3 separate regions of the Homo sapiens genome follow, and regions 2 and 3 are each linked to region 1. The links are contacts of gene promoters, found by promoter capture Hi-C in blood cells and fetal thymus (Javierre and others, 2016). All regions are on one chromosome and are shown on one strand. Each heading gives the region's core, a stretch centred on a gene start or on the middle of the fragment in contact. The rest is flanking DNA. Distances are from core to core; before and after follow the strand shown.

Region 1 (4,342 bases), core at 900-3,399:
AAACAAATTATCGAAAAAAGAACAGTTTTAAGGGGAACCTACTAATTAAACAGTTAACCGAAGCTACGAGTTACAAAATTAGTTTCTCTTTGGTTTCCTTATGCTTGAAGGAACACTCTTTGGCCAACTATTCAGCTTGGTAGGTTCCATTCATTAAAACACCTCACTCTACAGAAACGGATCACAACACATCCAGACTGCGTCTCCCTAGCACTATTACGATTATTCTGAGGAAAAAAGAAAAAGCCTAACAAAAGACGTCAAGGATTGTGGTAGTATTTTTAAAATTTCAATATGCAAGCAGGACTCTTATGCAGGTTGATTTAACAGTTTAAATTCCATTTTATCTGGCCACTGCAGGCAAAGCAGCAGTTCTTTATCTCCTCACCATAGGAACATAAATTACCCCACAGAGACCGTCCTCCCTACTTTTCTCCTGTAGGTCAGAATCAAATCATCGAACTTGACTATTACAAATGCTCACATTTGAGTCCTCCCCTTCCTTTCTTTCTTGTCCCTGGATTAATTCCTACGTGGCTAGCACAAACCTAATTTATGATGTAAATAGGTAGAGCGGATCCCTAAAAAGCTCTGCCCCTGTGGGTTCGCACTTGGCACGTCCCCCTCCGTGTCGTTGCTTCGCTGGAATTTCCAATGAAACAGTAACAGTAGCTAAGGTAACTGAGAGCGGGGCTGAACCTGGCCAATTCCGGAGCAGAAACGCAAAGACTTTCTCCGGGTCTGGGGGTGGGGAGACTGGCGTCGCGGACAGATTTCCGATTGCGCGGGGGTGGTGAGAGGCCAACGAGTGCAAAGGCGGTTGTCTAGTCTTTGAAGGCCGGCGGCTGGCTCTGCCACGCTCTCAGCAGGAAGGGGAGGGGACCAGGAGGAAGAGGGGGAGAAGGAGGAGATGCAGCGAAGAGCCCAAGGAGGGGGAGGAAGACCGGGGGAGGAAGGAGGGGCCAGAGGAGGAGCCCAGGCTCCGGGAAAGCCCGCGCGCCCGGCCGGCAGGACCTCGGGGCGGAGTCGCAGGCTCCGTCCGGCCCCCCGCGCGGCGACCCTCGCGCGGTGCGCCTCGAAGGGGCGGGCCCGCCTCGCAGCCTCCCTCCGGGTTTCGGGCCCTCCTTCCCCGCTCCTCCCTCCCCTCCCTCCTTTCCATCTCAGCAGCGCCCTCAGTCTCCCTCTCGCAGGCTCATACAAAAGCAAAATGTCCGCCATGTTCCGAGGCGGCTGCGGTTGTCGCGCCACGAGCTCGGCCCTCCTGCGGTTTCTCCCCGGGGCTGCTCCTCCCCGGTCCCCTCTCCCCGACCCCAGGCGCGACAGCTACTCCGAAGCCGCCGACGGCACCACTCCGCCCGCCCTCTGCGCACCCCCTCGCCGCCCGCCCCGCCGGGCGACGCAGGACCGCCTTAGGCGGGGGCAGGGGGGTAAGCAGCCCCCGCCGACTTGCTCCCGCTTCCCGCCTGTCCCCCCACCCGTAGCCCCTTTACCTTGATGCAGTACGGGGGTTCGTCGTAGGTGACCAGCATGTACCTGTCTCCACGGCTGGCCGGGTCCCGGGCGCGCAGCTGCGGGGCAAGGGATGACGGAGGGGGTCGCGTAGGAAAGGAGGGGGGAGGGCGATACAAACGTTACAGAAGCACCTCAATCCACACCCTGAAATCCCTCGGGAGCTCTCCCCATCTCTCCCCTCCCCTCCCTTTACCTTCAAGAATAACTCCACAGCGCCTTTGGCAATGTCCAAATAAGAGGTGCCCAGGTCAGTGCGCTGGTTCATAGAGGCGGACGTGTCTATGAGGAACAGCAGGATGGGCATCTTCCCCCGCACTCCTGCCTCCGCTCCCCACTCTCCCGGCCCTCTTGCCCTCACTGCCGCGTACGGCCACCTGAACCCTCAACTCTCGCAGAGCCGGGGAGCAAGGAGCAAGAGGAAGAGGGGGAGACGGGACGGGACGGGACGGATGGGACCGCTCCTGGCCTCCTCTTTCTGCAGCCCCACCTCCTCTCCCTCCAAGGGAACTTGAAAGTGTGAGCGTGTGTAGCCCTCGGGGCCCTCCCCCTTCCTCTCTTCTGCTGCCACCACTACTGCCGCTGCCAGGACTACTGCCTAAGCATCCGTCCGCGCTCACTAGAGCGCTCGCCCCAGACTGAGCGCCGTCTCTGTTCACTGACAACTTCTGTCTGCTCACCTACCATCGGCACCATGTGACCAGAACCCATGCCATTGGCTGCCAATTATGTGGTATTTGCATATTCATTAGATGACAGGACTAGGGGAGGGACTTGGGCGAACCCTGGGAGTTGAAGTTTGAACCCAGGCAGAGGGTAAGGGGAAGTGTTACGGACCCTCGCTAGGATTCTCCTTTAAAGGACTTGGAAGCAGTTCGAATGATTAGTTCGGGTGGTTTAAATGGATTTTTCTGTCTCTCTTCAAAGATGGTGATTCGAAAAGAAGAGTGAATTTGAGCAACAGTTGTACAGAAGTACAGAAGCAGATGCTTGGACAGTTTGCACAGAAAATTCTTCGCTAACTGCAATCGATCAATCCTGCCAGTGGCGAAGACGAAAATATTTCAGAAGCAGCAAACTTCTTTCCTGGCAGGACGTACTCACATTCCTTTAGATCCCTCCCCCGTCTTGATCAGTATTTGTGAGTTGGTTGCTGGCCTTGCATTCCACATATATCTACTTAGAAAGGAAACTAAAGCTTAAACACAGTTACAGTTACCTAAACTGGCCTTTTGTATGCACAAGCTTCTTCAGTTTCACTAAGCTCTTTGAAACATTGGCCTGCCTGTGATAATTCCACCACTGTTCCCTCTGCGCAGCCTTTACACATGGAGGTTTGCAAACCTAGATTGTGATTCAACTCACATATTTATTTATTTATTTATTTTTATAAATAAATAAAGAGGATCTCGCTTGATCGCCCAGGCTGGAGTGCAGTGGCCCCATCATAGCTGCCTGCAGCGTCCAGCTCCTGGGCTTAAGCGATCCTCCCATCTCAGCCTCTCAAGTAGCTGGGACCACAGGGGCAGGCTCTCAACTCACATTTATTGAGTGCCTATGAAGAGCCAGGCACCCACGGTAGCCTTGTTTAATCTTTGAATTAATTATGGCAGATGGCATTGTATTCAATTTTCAGTAGAGGAAAATGCAGCTCCCTGAGGTTAGGGTAACAATTACGGATACTCTCAGGTCTGGCTCTGTGAAGAGACTCAGTAAGTGGCCAACCACACTTGATTGACTACTTCATATGACACAATTTTAAAAATTGGACTTGTGTATTCCTGGCAATTACTATTGACAATGTGGAATCCAGGACTTCAATGAGTTTGCAGTTTCATTGAGGAGAGATGATGACATATACATACATAATATTTTATATATTTTGGCCAGGCGCAGTGGCTCATGCCTGTAATTCCAGCACTTTGGGAGGCCGAGGTGGGTGGATCATTTGAGGGCAGGAGTTTGAGACCAGCCTGGCCAACATGGTGAAACCCCCGTCTCTACTAAAAATACAAAAATTAGCCGGGCATGGGAGCAGGCGCCTGTAGTCCCAGCTACTTGGGAGGCTGAGGCAGGAGAATCACTTCAACCCAGGAGACGGAGGTTGCAGTGAACTGAGATCACACCACTGCACTCCAGCCTGGGCAACAGAATGAGATAACATCTCAAAAAAGTATTTTATATATTTTATATACACTCTCTCTCTCTCTCTCTCTCTCTATATATATATGTATGTTCTGTGTATATGTTTCATATATTATATATGCACATTCAATAACATTCTCAGAGAAATACGATTTTAAAAGAAGTCATATGGCAGTATATGAATCAGGGACAAACAAGGATGCAAGTTAAAAAGTGCTATGGAAACAATGGTCCAGTCTAGAAATTCATAGGATTTCACGAACAAGGCACAAAAAGGGAAGAGAGGGAATCTGGGTTGGAAGGAATGATATGAACAAAAACTCAGCCAAAGATAGTACTATGTATGGTGCATTTCAGGCCATTCTGGTGGAAAGTAGGGAATTAATGAAGAAATAAGGATGAAAAAGATACTAGAAGCCCCCATTTCCATTCCGATACAAATGTCAGTGTAGAAGGGCAATGCCTACATGGGCTAGGGTACAAAAAATATAGGACTGTTGGGGGCAGTGTGTTAGTTTTCTACTGCTGTTTAACAAATTATTACAAATTTAGTGGCTTAAAACAACACAAGCATTTACTATCTCACAGTTTCCATGAGTCAGAGGTCTAAGTTTACCTGGGTTCTCTACTTAGTCTCATAAGTCTGCAGTCAACGTGTCAGCCAGGCTGTTTTCATCTGGAGGTTCAC
Region 2 (3,879 bases), core at 1,182-3,681, 3.0 Mb after region 1:
CTCACTGTGATAACAGTTCCTCATTTGTTAGAGCATTGGGTATAAAGTTATGTAACTCACCCATGCCCTTCTCTCTAGCTGACTGTGATAGCCAACACTGCCTACTTTTTGCTGTGGTAGATCTTGGGACTGCCAAAGCCACTTCCTGTATGTCAGACACATTTGACTTTTACAGCAGTTCAGGCAATTCGGCAAATTTGAAGGAAGGTGGGAAGAGGTGGTTAGGAATTAGAGTCTTTTCCCCCTTTTCTCAAATAACTAGCAACTCCTACTCTCTTGACTTATGCTATGTTTCTACCCAGTATAACAAAGTATCGGACACCATCCCTGCGCATTGTCCCAATGACTTTCACGATACTTGCCAAAACCATCGGGGGTTTTCTCAATTATTTGAAGGGCAGTTTGTACCCAGTCTTGTCCTCCCAGCCATTACCATCCTACTCTATTATCTTGCACTTAACAAACAGATTGATTTCTTGCCTAAAATTAGCTGGAGAATTCTATTTGGATCAGTCCATCAGAATTAAAAAGTATAATTAGCCTGAGAATTCACTCCACTTTTCAACCTAACTGCTGCTTAAATATCTCCTGCAATGTTTTGCACTTTGTGCAGAGCATGTAGAACTCTGTCTCTGGGTGAAGTAGCTGATTACAGGAAAGCAGCCATGAATTGCTATGAGCTTGTCACTGACGATCCTGCATATGTGTGCGTTATCAACTACAATTGTCTTCGTAAAATTAAATAAAAGCACGCATTTATTATTGTGGGGCTCCAATTAAGGGACAGCTGGTGCTCCTATTACACTTGCATTAAATCGAAACTTGTAATTTCCCTGTGCAGATGCACACTTTTTAATCAAGATATAAAATTGCATTTGCTTTGTCCATTTTCCAAAGTATCTGGAACCTTACCTCAGGGTTCCTCTTATCCTGCAAACTCCGTGGAAGAAGGGGAACAGATTGCACTGATCAGCATTTCCCTGTCTGAAATTCTTAGAGGGAAATAAACGATTGGGGCATTTATGAAAGATAAAACCCCCAAGAAGGCAGCTGGTGAGTATGAATGTATTTATTTAGCCTGTAGCGAGTGGACTTATTCATCGACTAAGATCAATTTTGAAAGGACCCATTTCGCCTCACCTGTCTGGGAAGTGTCTATGAGCGTCCCGCTGTGAACCACACTGCCTTTCTCACTGGCACTTCAGTTCCTGAAGAGCCAGAAACTTTGCACCCCTACCCCAACCCCGCCTCTGGGGATGTGTGCCTGCTTCGTTTGTTTTCGCTTTTGTAAAATCTGAGCGTTATGATTTGTCCCCCTTTCCCTTCCTAATGAAATGACAAAGGGTCTGTGCAGCGGGGGCTGGGCTGCTGGGTTTGGGGGCGAGGCGCCACACCCCCTGAGAATAAAGCCCGCGCTGCGCTCTCGGAGAACCAGGCACGAGTGAGCGAACCACACAAAGAATATATTTCGCGACGAAACAGCGCCCTACAGGAAGAAAGTGCCCGCACTCCGAGCGTGAGCCGCAGCGCGACTTTTTGGCGCTCTTTGGGAGCAGTGAGAGAGAGGCGGAGGCCAGAGAGTCCGGGGTGGGCGCGGGAGCCGGGGCGGCCCTTGGCCGCATTCCCGCCCGTCCCGCAGCGGCGCGCGGAGCCAGGTGAGGTTGGCGGCGGCGCCGCGCTACCTGGCCGGGCGGGGCGGGGCCGGGCGGCCGCGTGCGCCGCTTCCGAGTCCGGCGCTCCGGATGCCCGCCCGCGCTCCGCTGGCCCGCGGAGTTTCGCGGGAGTTTCCGTTTTGGCGCCTAAAGCCCCTCGCTGGCGCCGTTTCCCTCCGCGTGCCGCGTCTGTCCGGCGCGGGACGCACGGAGGCGCGGCCCCAGCCCGGGCTGCCTGGGGTCGGCGGGGCTGCGCGAGGGGACGTCTGGCGTCCGGCGGAGGGCACTGGCCCGGGAGGAGGGCACGCCTTTGGCAAAGGCCGGGCGGGGTTGGGACCGGGGTTGCTATGGTAGCTGCGAGCCCGGGCGGGAGCCCCACGCCCGGCCTCCGCGAGGGAGCTGGGGCGCTCCGAGGTGTGCTCCGAGTGGACTGAACCAAGAGCCTGGGAGGAGCGGGTAGGGCCGGCCCGTGGCCTTGTCCCCTCCTCCCACAGCCCGCCGGCCGGCCCCGGGAAGGGGCCTCGAGGAGCCCAGAAAAGAAAGTATTCTGGCCCCTGGAACCGAAAGGAGTCTTGCAAAAAGCACGAAGGGGTCAAGGGGGCCGAAGGGAGAGGGGGAACCGTCGCCTCCGTCCGAGAGTCAGCGTGCGCGTGTCTGTAGACTTGACATTTTATACCCCAGAGCGGCCGACTTGGAGCCGGGTTGCAAGTCCCAGCCCTGAAGTTCTGGAGGTGGGGCGGGCTTTAATTTGCTTATATCTAATGATTTCAGGAACCTCGCTTTAAAATGGCGGCATTCAGTATGCACCCCTGCTAAAGGCTCTCCCGGCACCGGGGCCACCTCGCGCAGCGCTGCTTTTGCTTCTGCCGCTAACAGATGGCATGTGCCGCTGTCGCTGCCGCTGCCCCTGCTGCTGCCGCTGAGAGCAGGGCCCCTTAGCCTCTGGGTTTGCGCTAGCAGCGTAAGGTAAGGCTGGAGATGAATTGGGATTTGTAAGAGAGGCTGCCTTCCTCGGACGCCGAGGAAATAATGCCTTTTAAACTTCATTTTACAAAATAGCAAATAGGAGGAAAAGTCATCCTGCAACTTTGTTGCGATTTTAGAGCTTTGATCATTTTCCTCCTCCTTTCCTCCTCCTCCTTTTTCTTCTTCCTTCTCTTCCTCCTCTTCTCTTCCTCCTCCCCTTCCTTCCTTCTTTCTTTTTTTCTACTTTCTTCTTTTTAATTTAAAGGAACTTCTTGCATGGCATATAATCAGCAAATGCTTTTTAACAACGAATTTCCCCATTTTCACGCGATATCGTGAGCAGTGCCACAGCTTCCTTGCAGAACCTTGTCTCTTCCTGCCCTGAGTCAACACGTTTGGGCAGCTCGCTTTTACTACTGGGGTTTGAAGGGCATGAGAGTAGATTTTAGGAGACTATTAAAAAGGGAACTTTAGTTTTTAACACTCACACAATAAGCTTTTATGGTAAGAAAACGAAATTAAACCCAGACGAGTAATGAAAGTTGACATTTAAGTGATTCTTTGTTGTGGTTTCATAATTAGGGTAATAGACCTACTGTGTGTTTTTCTGAGCACTCTTAGATAGCTAGCTAGCTAGCTAGCTAGCTAGATGATAGATAAAACAGATAAATTAATTGTGGCTCTAATTAAAGTAATATGTTTTAAAGGAGTTATTTTCTCCTAGATGTTCTTACATCGTTTGTAAATTGAGCTGGGATCCCCACAGCCTCTCCGTATTTGTGGGTAGACTTCATGGGAAAGAATCAATTAAAACAAAACTTGCAAGATTTAATTTTGAAGTGATTGGTACTTTTTTTATTAAGCGGACTCCCTGCTTTAGTGAATAAACGTTTGGGTGATTACTGATATAATGTTTGGAAAACAGATTGTTGGTATGTGGGAATGACTAAACATCCATGCTTGATACAATTTATCTGAATTTTGTTTTGTTTTGTTTCCCCCTCCAGTGAAAGGTAAATAGACAATGAGGCTTATCAGACACCTTGGATTTTTCCTGATTATATTTCCATCTTCTCCTTGGCCCATGAAAATCTAATCCTGAATGTTTAACTACTTTTTAAAATAATTTTTAACTTTTTTCTAATGTGCGATACTTTTGGGGGATGCTTTCATATTTACCAACACTTCTTCAAATATAGACTAAAATGGGCTTCTGCCCACAGCTCAGCTGATAATATTCTATCGCTGTTCACTCCTTCTC
Region 3 (4,370 bases), core at 30-2,529, 3.5 Mb after region 1:
GTTTAGGCCATCTAGCAAAGGAAAAAAAAATAGAACATGAATGCTTTAAAAAGTTAGTAAATTTGGATAACACTTAGCAGATAGCCTAAAATGCACCGATTTAAAAACATAACAGCATAAAAAGTTTTCTGACATAGCTTATCTTTAATAAAATGAAAATATAATGGGAGGGGGTTGGGCTGGGTAGACTTCGAGTAACAAGTTGGGTCCCATGCAGTAGTCCCTTGTCCAAGACAAAAAGCTTCCTTTAACCACATGTAACAGTCATCTTGTGGGAAAGGCACGGAGGGGGCTGAGAAGTCATCACCTCAGTGACTCTGAACAGAACCAGCATTTCTCACGCCACACTATGGGCTGGGCTAGGTCGGGGAGCAAGCTACAACTTTGCCCTTAAGCAGCAGTACCGAAAGGGAGAAAGAGGTCACCTCTCTCTTAGCCCTACGCACACAGGAAGAGCCCAATTCAAGCCGCCGCCGCCGCCACCCCTGGTGTTGCCCCGCCCCAACTTGAGTGTGTGTTTGGGGTGGGGGGTGTAGGGCACTCACTACTCGCGTTATACCCCACAAATTCCAAGGCACTTCCATCTCTCCCAGGTTAAGTTCCGCCCCCCCATCCCCAACCGTGCCAAGCTCAGCAGGCGCAGGTGTCTGTGGCTCTGGCCTATTTTTATACCCCCAACCGCCCTCAATCTCCACCTAGTTGCGCGCTCCAGTCCCGCCTCGCCTTCCCAGCGAAGAGCACTACCTAGCCTACACACCAGGAAACACCTCCAGCCCTACTCCCAGGTCACCTGGCCATAGTGACCGGCCCTGCCCTCAGGGGAGCCCTGGGGCCGTCCCTTGTCGCCGGTGCCCAGCACCGAGGGCGCACCGGGCTCCCAAGCAGTCACGTGGGCGGCGGGGGCGGCCTGCGCTTCCTCACCTGCATCCCAGGCACTTGGACAGCCACCGGCGAGTGGGCCATGGAGGCGAATGCTGCCTCGCTCCGCTTCTGCGGCGGTGGCGCCTTGGGTTCGGACTGGCTCCTCCCTCCGGGGGTAGTTCGGCGGCCCTCCCAGGCTTTTCGATCGGGGCCTGGGAGGACACACAAAAGTGGGGTTACTGGGCTGGCGGCGCGTAGCCCGGGGCTAGGAGGTGGGCTGTTAGCGGCGCAGCTCCCTGGGACTCAGTCTACCTTTCTGGCGCCCGCCCGCCGCTGAAGCAGCCGCCTCCGCTGCTGCTCCTCTTCCTGAACGCCGAGCGCTGTGAGTGGTGGTGGCTGGGACCTGGGCTCGAGTGATGCCGCTCCTCTGCGCCTCGCCGCTTTAGGAAGAGGAGGTGGAGGCGCCCCAGCCACCCGCCTGCTCGCCTGGCCTGGGAGGCGGTTGGGGGCGGTTCCGCCGTTGGCCCTGCCCCCGCCCCGCAGCCGGGCGGTGTCGCGGGAGCCAAGGCTCCAGGCAGCGAAGAGGTTTGGCTGGGGTTGCTGGAGTCTGAGAAGCTGGAGACTCTCCCGGCACGCGGAGAGGAGAACCCGGGGACCCGGAGACCTGGGACATGGCTGGGCCTGGGAAGAGAATGGAAGAGTTTGGGAAACCCTGAGGGTATGAGGGCGCCCCAGATGCGGCCACGTTGCAGGGAGGCGTGCGAGGCTGGGGCACACGCAGCCTCGGAGACGACTTGAGCTGAAACTTGGGGAGTGTTGGAAGTCTTTCTTGGCTCCCCGGCCTGGCCAAGGGTAGGATTACAGATAGCCGCGGAGTCGGTGGACCCCCGCTTTTTCCCGCCATCTGGTCTCCTCAGCTGGGGGTCGCGCCTCTGGGCAGATCTGTGGCCACACTCTTGCTTTCCGAGTTCCCTGACCCCAAACATGCTTCAGGTGACTTCAACTTAAGGTTCCCCCTACCTCCTGGGCTATCCCTTGCAGAACGGCCAAACTAGGGCTTCTCTCTACCACAAGTTCTGCACGTGTAAGGCAGAGGGAAATTGGAAAACAGATGGTACATCGGCAGAAAAATTAATGAGGATAGTAGAGGCTTGGGAAATGAGATTGGATCGTTAGCAGTACAGGTTATTGAAATCAGCATACACTGCAGTGGTTTTGGTAACTCCCTGCCTCCGCCCCATTTTAAGTTCTACTCCAGGAGAGGGAGACAGGCTCTTTTGAGAGTACTCTAACAGTAGCGACAGTAACACTGGTAATAATAGTAACAGGAATTTCATTATGAAGGCACCTTTGGGAACACGTAAGGGGTTAATTACTTTTTAAAAAAGTAATAGTCGAGTGCCAGTTTAAAATGAAGATGAAGTTCCTTACCTTGAAATTTGTTATGGGTCTCTACGCACCACACGGTGGGGGGCCTCTAGTGGTAAAAGATAGTTTCTCTTCTTCCTTTTAAATCTTTTTCAGAGAATAGTATATAATTCTTATCAATATCGTTATTATTAATGGATATTATTTTCATTGTGCCAGGGACTGCTAAGTGCTTTCTATGTGTTATTAATACCTTACTGAACCTGTACAAGGGCCTTCTGGAGTCTTATTGATTTCCCCTCATTTTACAGATGAAGAAAAAGGCTCAACCAGGTTAAATAATTTGACCGAAATGTCACGCAATTAAGAAGTGGTACAGCTGGGAATTCAGACGCAGGTCCCTCTGACTGGTGATAAACTTACTACTTTCTCTATGGTTTCTGTTTGTGTTTAATGATGATAAAAGGTACAATTGCATTTTCCTTACTCCTAGTTCCCCAAGTCCAGCCCTTCACTATTTCTAACCTAATGTTAGGCTCCAATCTAGTCTCGATTTCCCACCAACCCAGCTCACAACATTGCCAGCCTGACCGGAAACCTGCAGTGCCACCTAAACTTTTAATGTCCATAGAAATCCGAGGGTTCTTTTGCTCCCTCAAAAGCGCAGATTTTTATCTCCCATGTCTGGACTGGGCCCAAGATTCTGCAATGCTAACAAGCTCTCACATGGTGATGATGTTTAGATCACACTTTTAAGTCGCAAGGGTCTGAATCAAGCTCCATCATTTAAGACCTGTCTCAAATCTCACCTCCATTGACCCTTCCTAGTTGCTCCAAGCCCTCCTTCAAACTCCTCCAATGTGAGCAGCGCTCACACTGTAGTTCTTTCTTCTTATTTCATATATTTCATTTGTTTTGTGTGCCCATATTAGGTCCTTGAGGGCAGAGATCCAGCCTCTCTTACATGAGAATGATTCAGGTAGGATGGCAGGAGTCTGAGGGCAAGCTTTTTATACATTTTGTCCATTGCTGTATCCCCAGAGACTAGGTTCATGGCATGTAGTAGGCCCTCAATAAATAATTGTTGAATGAATGAATGAACTTCTTTTGAATTCTCCACTGAGGTTACTAGGTGCATAATGTATACACTATATATTTTATTGATGTCAGGTTAAACCCCTAGGCATTGCCCTTACTGAACATTTAAATTGTTCAGTTTATTGTGTGTTACATCTTTCATTATTTAGTCTCCAAAATTCTTTCCTGCTAGTTTAATTTCACAACTACTTATGAGCCAGTTGTATAATTTTGATAGATAAGTAAATTAAGCATATCAGAGAAATGACTTTCTCTGACATCATTCTGGGCCAGAGTTATGTAACTATGTGGAAGAATAAAAGCTTAATGCTGAGACCTGGAATATTGAGACATTTCCTGAAAGACATTGCATTTGAGATCTTAGTGAGCTTTTTAGCCTTTATTTAGGTTTACTGCTATTAAATAAAGCATCAGTTGTTGTTATAATTGATAGAGATCACTTGAGTTTTTACATGGGATTGCTTGTGGGCTTTTAAATGATTTTTCCTGTGTGTGTGTGTGTGTGTGTCTGTGTCTGTGTGTGTGTGTGTATCTATAAATTAAATCTTGTGAAGGTGTCAACATTTGAAAACAATTCAAATTTTATGAGCATTAGAAACTTTTTTTCCACTTTGAACTGGATTATTTCTCAAATTCTTAAATAAAATGACAAGAAATTCAAGTACGCTTTTGTTACACACACACACAAAGGAAACTTAAATATTTTACTTCAAATTGTCAGCCCAGGCCAGGCGTGGTGCCTCACCCCTGTTCCCAGCACTTTGGGAGGCCGAGGCGGGCAGGTTACCTGAGGTCAGGAGTTTGAGACCAGCCTGGCCAACATGGCGAAACCCCATCTCTACTAAAAATACAAAAATTAGCTGGACATGGTGGTGTGTGCCTGTAATCCCAGCTACTCTGGAAGCTGAGGCAGGAGAATTGCTTGAACCTGGGAGGCAGAAGTTGCAGTGAGCTGAGATCATGCCACTGTACTCCGCCCTGGGCCACAGAGCGAGACTCCATCTCCAAAAAAAAAAAAAAAAAAAAGTCAGCCCAGAGTCTGA

What was found. Contacts are between HindIII fragments. The CHiCAGO score rates a contact against its expected background, and 5 or more counts as called.
Region 2: a contact is called between the fragment with the promoter of MBNL3 here and the fragment with the promoter of INTS6L in region 1, in 1 of 17 cell types (monocytes). The highest score is 5.2, in monocytes.
Region 3: the fragment with the promoter of STK26 here is called in contact with the fragment with the promoter of INTS6L in region 1 in 2 of 17 cell types (non-activated CD4 T cells and fetal thymus); the score reaches 5.6 in non-activated CD4 T cells.

Annotation. Positions count from the first base shown.
Region 1 is chrX:135,518,467-135,522,808 of GRCh38, reverse strand. INTS6L (integrator complex subunit 6 like) reads right to left here and starts at 2,149. Exons shown (of 18, transcript NM_001351601.3): 1 at 1,706-2,149; 2 at 1,491-1,568. The coding sequence starts at 1,816. It overlaps INTS6L-AS1 (INTS6L antisense RNA 1), which reads left to right and starts at 2,135. Exons shown (of 2, transcript NR_046740.1): 1 at 2,135-2,242; 2 at 2,437-2,726. RefSeq lists silencers at 1,046-1,245, 1,306-1,575 and enhancers at 1,826-1,885, 1,916-1,995. The HindIII fragment of the contact is 2,771 bases long and covers 1-2,709 here.
Region 2 is chrX:132,487,590-132,491,468 of GRCh38, reverse strand. MBNL3 (muscleblind like splicing regulator 3) reads left to right here and starts at 2,431. Exons shown (of 9, transcript NM_001386889.1): 1 at 2,431-2,618. RefSeq lists a silencer at 1,583-2,152. The HindIII fragment of the contact is 7,236 bases long and covers 1-3,116 here.
Region 3 is chrX:132,020,211-132,024,580 of GRCh38, reverse strand. STK26 (serine/threonine kinase 26) reads right to left here and starts at 1,279. Exons shown (of 12, transcript NM_016542.4): 1 at 1,174-1,279; 2 at 922-1,073. The coding sequence starts at 963. RefSeq lists enhancers at 598-667, 637-1,184, 1,038-1,197, 1,648-1,697, 1,185-1,731 and a silencer at 1,238-1,487. The HindIII fragment of the contact is 2,994 bases long and covers 244-3,237 here.